Linked DNA regions of Homo sapiens: region 2 is linked to region 1. Evidence: promoter capture Hi-C in 16 types of primary human blood cells and fetal thymus (Javierre and others, 2016). All regions are on one chromosome and are shown on one strand. The core of a region is centred on a gene start or on the middle of the fragment in contact, and the rest is flanking DNA. Distances in the headings are between cores, read along the strand shown. Region 1 holds the start of TAAR5 (trace amine associated receptor 5). Region 2 holds the start of VNN2 (vanin 2).

The links. Contacts are between HindIII fragments. The CHiCAGO score rates a contact against its expected background, and 5 or more counts as called.
Region 2: a fragment that was not itself captured here is called in contact with the fragment with the promoter of TAAR5 in region 1 in 1 of 17 cell types (monocytes); the score reaches 5.9 in monocytes.

The regions. Positions count from the first base shown.
Region 1 is chr6:132,587,721-132,591,412 of GRCh38, forward strand. TAAR5 (trace amine associated receptor 5) reads right to left here and starts at 2,021. Exons shown (of 1, transcript NM_003967.3): 1 at 872-2,021. The coding sequence starts at 1,966. The coding sequence ends at 953. The HindIII fragment of the contact is 5,426 bases long and covers 1-2,304 here.
Region 2 is chr6:132,756,542-132,760,233 of GRCh38, forward strand. VNN2 (vanin 2) reads right to left here and starts at 1,363. Exons shown (of 7, transcript NM_004665.6): 1 at 1,130-1,363; 2 at 875-1,005. The coding sequence starts at 1,342. The HindIII fragment of the contact is 9,752 bases long and covers 1-3,692 here.

The DNA.
Region 1 (3,692 bases), core at 771-3,270:
CAATGAATGAGGAACCAAATATGTGCACAGTGTTCTGGCTTATCCAGTGGATATTAAGATGATTTCTTGCTCTCCTTTTCCTCCAATGTACTATAAAAAATAACACTTTTACACTGTTGGTGGGACTGTAAACTAGTTCAACCATTGTGGAAGTCAGTGTGGCGATTCCTCAGGGATCTAGAACTAGAAATACCATTTGACTCAGCCATCCCATTACTGGGTATATACCCAAAGGAATATAAATCATGCTGCTACAAAGACACATGCACACGTATGTTTATTGCAGCACTATTCACAAGAGCAAAGACTTGGAACCAACCCAAATGTCCAACAATGACAGACTGGATTAAGAAAATGTGGCACATATACACCATGGAATACTATGCAGCCATAAAAAAGGATGAGATCATGTCCTTTGTAGGGACATGGATGAAGCTGGAAACCATCATTCTCAGCAAACTATCGCAAGGACAAAAAACGAAACACCGCATGTTCTTACTCATAGGTGGGAATTGAACAATGAGAACACTTGGACACAGGAAGGGGAACATCACACACCGCGGCCTGTTGTGGGGTGGGGGGAGGGGGGAGGGATAGCATTAGGAGATATACCTAATGTAAATGACGTTAATGGGTGCAGTGCACCAACATGGCACATGCATACGTATGTAACAAACCTGCACGTTGTGCACATGTACCCTAGAACTTAAAGTATAATAAATATATATATACGTATATATATATATACGTGTATATACATACATATATATAAAACATTGAATGTGGGGAGTGCTTTATCCCTTTCCAAGTTAAGGAGCTTGTCTTTCTCTTCTACTTAACCCATGCTGTCCTGGAAGCATGCCCACAAACTCAACACCACACAGCCCACGGTCACAGTGCCACTTATCTTTCCTGTGAGGTCCTACTCCTTGCCTGCATTTAGTAGAAGGAATCATTCTTGGTACAAATCAACAGTGCGTGTCTGCGGTGAGAAGACCTTCTGGCTCAGTGTGAGTTTCAGTGCCTTCCGAAACCACTGGTAGGAAAAGACATAGATGATGGGGTTGCAGGCTGAGTTGAAGTAAGCAAACCAGATAAAGATGTCAAAGACCAGTGGGGGTGTGATAAAGTGAAGGAGGCTGTCGACCATCGTGTCTATGGTGAAGGGCAGCCAGCACAAGAGGTATATGCCCACAGCAATGCCCAGGGTCTTGGCAGCTTTTCTCTCATGCTTGGCAGCCCCAGCCAGGCTTTTGCTCAATGTGGTAATCTGCTGAGCCTGTCTGGTAGCAACCACAAAGATCTTCACATACAAGCTGATCATAATGAGGCAGGGGACAAAGAACAAAGGGAAGTTTAACCAGCCCCAAAATTTATTGAGCAGCAGCTGGCAACTGCCCACACAAGGCATCTCTTCCAGCCACTGGCTGAGCCTTGTCTCTACCACATCTGTGTAGAGGAATAACGAAGTGTATGCTGCGGGCACCCCCCATCCTGCCAGGATGTACCTGAGAGCCACCCTCACTGTGAACTTGGAGGGATAGAGCAGGGGGTCACAGATGGCACAGTGGCGGTCAATGGAAATGAAACAGAGATGGAAGATGGAGGTGAGGCAGAAGAGGGTGTCCAGGTAGGTGTGCAGGCGGCAGAGGAAGTCCCCGAAGAACCAGCAGCTCTCCACTGAGCGAATGGTGCTGAGGGGCAGCACCAGCAGACCCAGAAACATGTCAGCCAGGGCCAGGGAGAGCAGCAGGAAGTTGGTGGGCGTGTGAAGCGCTTTGAAGTAGGACACAGCAAATGCCACAAATACATTCCCTAGCACGATAATCAGCATGCCTGCTGCACAGGCCAGGTAGATGACCAACTGGATGCCCAGAGTATGTACTGTCCTGGGGCAAGACCCATTCACCTGGTAGCAGAATGCCGCAGGGTGCTCTTCAGCACCTTGGATGAAGACAGCTCTCATTTATGATTTCTACTCTTCCTCTGTCTGAGAACTGGCCACCTTCTCCACTGGAGGGCAAAAAAAAAAAAAAAAAAAAAAAAAAAAAAAAAATATGTCTGCTAAATAATCACAGAGTGAAACGAAGAGGAAGAAACTAAAGTACAGTTTGGAACATAGTACAGTGCCCCTGGGTACTGAATCAAATGTGCCCTGAAAATCAAATGCAGCATAGTATTCAAGGTTTCATGAGAGTTACTTCTGCTAGCTCTAGTTTATATGACTAGGCACTTTAAAACTAGTGTAGGTAGTATTCTTAAAGAAAGAAAAGAAGGATGTAAGCTGAATGTTTCCTCAAAGAAAGCTTGATTATATCCATAGGTAGTATTAAATAATAGAGAATGTCTCTTACGTTTTGATAAGGTATTTTTTGTCAAATGTAAAGTGAAATTTAAAGCAAAGATCTGAACCAAGTGACCAATTAATTCTTGTTAATAAATTATTCCTTGGAAAAAGTGTAACTTCTAGCTTCTCTCTTTAAGAATTACATACATTGACAATAAAGTTAGCAGATTAAGATTTTTAGCTACATGCCAACTCTTCCCAAGAGAAGAATTCAGCATGCAAATATTAATAATTAAAAGAGTAGAAAATTGCTCTATTTTAGCTTTAAATGCTGCACATTTTATGATGATAACACAAAGTGTTTACACATCTTGGTATAACTATTTGATAGGCAAAATGATTTTATCTATTTAACATCTTAATGTAAGTCTGTGAATTATTAACCAAGTCCTAATATATTGAATTCAGAGTTTCTAAGTTACTTACACAGGTAGGAATCAGAATCCCTTCCTGGGAAAAAATGTTTCTTGGAGCAGGTGGACACAGGGAATGTCAGAGTACTCTTCTGTTGGCCACAATGACAGGTGTGCAATTAGTTAACGATTTTATACTCTCAATAGAAACTACTCCTCCATGTGCTATGATACAAATAAGCTGTGAAGAGGCACCATGGGACCTAGTTTGCACTATTTGCAAGTCTCAGTTGTTTAAGGTTCCTCCTCAATACAGAATCACTTACCCTGACAATTAATTAGAGATAAAATTTAAAGACGGTGGATGTATATATTCTTTTTTAATTTTTCAGTTCTGGGATGTTTTGAAGGTATTCTTGCCTGCTAATGGCTGCTATATATTTTCTAATTTCATTTTTAGTGAGTTTCTTATTTTTCTTCTGCTTTAGTATTATTTGTGTATATTTCTCTCAACATGAGAAATAGTTGAGAATAATTGATCATGGGTTTTTTGGTTCATGAAGGGGTGGTTTGTGACTTCCACACAGGATTCATCATTATGTGTTTTTTGAGCACTATATTTTGTGATGGTGAAAGAAAGCATGGTAGATGAAGCAGTTCACCTGGAGGAAGAATAGTTAAATTCCTGTTTCATCCTTTCTTATGCCATACCTAACCTCTCTCTCTGCTTCCCCATTGGTAAGAGTAGGTACAATTATACCTGTGTAACTTGATTTCACAGGGATATTATCAAGGTAAATAACATGTTGAATCGTATTCTGCTCTCTGCCTCTTGATATCTTAGAAGCTGGTATGCCTCTTTATGGTTACAGAGAAACCATTTCACAGTATCAGTCAAACTAAAGTTGTAAAAATGACAGAATTCTAGAGGTGACACCAAATTACATCTGCCAGAGGGGCCTGGAAGAGGAGGTGGGGCAGGTCAAAAAGAA
Region 2 (3,692 bases), core at 415-2,914, 170 kb after region 1:
GATCTCATCTTAACTTTTCAACAGCAGTTGGCACAGTTAATTACACCTCCTTCTGGAAACACCTCACTTCTCTATTGGACCCACCCTCTCATTTTCCTATTTATTGGTTGCTCTTCTTCGACTCTTCTGCTGATTCCTCGTTTTCTTCCGAGTCTAAACACTAGAATTTCCTAGTGCTCAAGCCTTATACCTAAACTCTTCTCTAACTCACTCCACAGGTGAACTCATCATGGTGTTTAACACCATCTATATGCTGACATTTGATTTTCTATCTCCAGATATAATTTTGTCTTTTCATGCCAGACTTGTCCATGCAACTGCCACGTTGACACCTCCAGGATGACAGTAGGACCCAGATTTTTAATATATATTAGAAGGTTTCTAGATAACCTTTTCCCAGGAAAATTAGATTTGTGAGCCTAGGAAAATGCAGTTTCAAAGCATAAGGTCTTATGATTCACTTGAAAATACATGGTGAAGTCTTTCTGCCTAAGAAGCAACTCTGGAATGGAGAGACTCTATAACATTGAAAGGGTGTCCCTTCAGCAGAGGCTTTGGAATGTATTCCTAACACAATCCACTGTCTACTTCAGAAATTAAGTTACTACTTGTATCTATGAGATCTCTTCCCTTAGTTTTTCTTGCAGGAATACCCTATTTACACATTTTCTCAAAATTTAATAAAGATTTTCAATCACAAAAGATTGTTAAATAGTATCTAAGTACAATTTTTTAAAATCTGACAAATGTTGAGATAAATATAACCATAACATATACCACATATATGGTAATTCAAGAGCAATCATTTTGCTTTGGTGAACGTGCGCATTTTAGAGAGTTACTTTTGCACAAAAGACTAAGATAGTTAAAATACCTGTGGGGGTCTTGACACGGAATCCAGTTCACCTGAGGGTCTGGGATATCCTCCAGATAAGGGAAAACAGTTTCCCTGGTAAATTTCCATCCATAAAGTGCATCTTCTGGAGTCACAATGATTCGAGCACCCTGTTCAAAACAAGCAAAATAAAAATGATTTTTCCATGTACAACACAGACAATTCAGCTCTCTCGTCTTCCACCAGCTCCCATGCCCCTCGTGTACATTATGATTAACAGAAATAAGAGAATACCTGCTCAGCTGCCTGCTTGATCGCTGTCTCCAGAATGTCTATATTCTCGTTCATGAGATTCAAGGCATCCTCCTGAGAAACTGGTGTTTCTGTTTTATTTGGCAAAATGACAGCATGTTCATACACTGCAGCTATAAAACTGTCCTGAGTACCAACCTGCAGGGTTATTAGGGCAAAAACTGCCACAGAGATTGGAAAAGAGGAAGTGACCATGGCCAAGGTTTAGTGATTTCTGAAAGCAAAAATAACATTCATGTAGTATTTACAGAGGGGAGAATGTTTGCATAACATGTGGCTGCCAGTTACTGGCCTTTTACTTTATCATCATTTTTCTTCTTCTTCTTCTTCTTCTTCTTCTTCTTCTTCTTCTTTTTTTTTTTTTTTTTTTTTTTTGAGGCGGAGTTTGCTCTGTCACCCAGGCTGGAATGCAGTGGCGCAAGCTCAGCTCACTACAACTTCCACCTCCCAGGTTCAAGCGATTGTCCTTCTTCAGTCTCTGAAACAGCTAGGACTACAGGTGCGCGCCACCACGTCCAGCTAATTTTTGTATTTTTAGTAGAGATGGGGTTTCACAATATTGGCCAGGCTGGTCTCAAACTCCTGATCTTGTGATCCATCCACCTCAGCCTCTCAAAGTGCTGGGATTACAGGCGTGAGCCACTGCACTTGGCCTACTTTATAATCTTAAGAACGCAATATATCTGACCACTTTTAAAGAAAGAAAAGTTGCAGTCCATTTAAGACAATCAGAAAGTATTACAGGGATTGAACAGCATGTACTATTAGTACTAAGATTTAATATTGAATTTCCAAAAGACACCCGAATTCAAATATAGAACAATTCCAGCTTTTGTTAATAGAAACTCATAACTAACTCTCGTGTAAAAAAATCACATCCCAACAAATATCTCATTTATTAAATTTAAAAATTGACAACAATTTTTTTGGTTCTGTTGAGTCACTTACATTGTGTTTATTTTTAGACGGGGGGGAAAATATTAAATACTTACTACTAAGAAAATGTAACACAGGACAATATTGATAACAAAATTTACCCAAATCTACACTCTGACTTACTTATTGCTATTAAGGACTGAAAACATGTGCTCCAGAAAAGCAGGATTTTGTGTCTGGTTTGTTCACTGCTGTATAGTTAGTGCCTACAGCAACAATACCCCGAGGCACCTAGGCCAGAGGAGGAATCTCAGCTCAGGGGCCCCAGGCCTCAGGATACTCCGCTTCTTTCCTTCTTTCTCTCTTTCACCCTTCCCTCCCCATCCTCCCCCTACTTCTCCTTCTCCTCCTACTCCTTCTCCTCCTTCTTTTTCCTCCCTCCCCACCCCCTGCTTTGGAGGAAGATGCCAGGGAAGGGGAAGAGTCCAGGATTGGTGATAAAGATCATCTGTGTTGTAATAAGGAGAAGATGTAACTTACATTTTTGTTAGCAGCAAATAACAACAATGAGTTTAAAAACAATGCTAACAGGCCAGGTGCAGTGGCTCATGCCTGTAATCCTAGCACTTTGGGAGGCCGAGGCAGGCAGATCACCTGAGGTCAGGAGTTCAAGACCAGCCTGGCCAACATAGTGGAACCCCCCATCTCTACCAAAAACACAAAAAGTAGCTGGTCGTGGTGGTGGGCGCCTGTAATCCCAGCTACTCGGGAGGCTGAGGCAGGAGAATCGCTGGAACCCAGGAGGCAGAGGCTGCAGTGAGCTGAGATCACACCATTGCGCTCCAGGCTGGGCGACAGAGCGAAACTCCGTCTCAAAAAAAAAAAAAAAAAAAAAAACAATAATAACAACAAATACAGGATGTGATCTCAGATGCCTTCTTAGGACATTCATATTCTCCCTTCCCCAGGCCCAATCCTGCCAAATAAAGGATTTGTTTTATTTTTATCCAGCCCTTTGGTAAAAGTCACGGAAATGCTTTTAGACAGCATAGAAGAGTAGGTACGATTAAACAAAGTTTATTCTGTGCTTTCCTTCTTACTGAGATAAATGTTTTGTTAAGAATGGGGCCTAGGGGCTATAAATAAGATCTGCTCATATTTTCTGCTTTGAATAGAAGTTTCTATTAAAGGAATAACTTTTCTTATCTCTATAGAGCAGAAAACTAAAAATAATTCAGGAAAAATGGTCAAGCCCTTTTGTGGAAAATGTAAAGGGATAGATATTTTTATGAATTTTTAGCAGATTGTATAATAGACTGTTAGTATATAACCATACTATCTAGTGTATAATTAGTAAATTAGCATAGGTGATTGGTATATAATAGATTATGAGTGCTGTTAGAGTTTAGAAATCATGTAACCCAAATGCCCACTTATTACAGGATAGGAATCTGAGGCATAGAGAGCTAGAGCGACAGAGCAGGATGTTCGCTTCTCATTCCTGATTCCAGAGTCTTTCCTTTATACCTAAAACAGCACATGTGTCTGTGCTCTCTTTTAATGTCTGCAACTGAGTGTCTGAACACTCGTGTCTTTTGGGGTTTTTTTGTTTTTTGTTTTTTTGTTTTGAGACAGAGTCTTGCTCTATTGCTCAGGCTGGAGTGCAGTG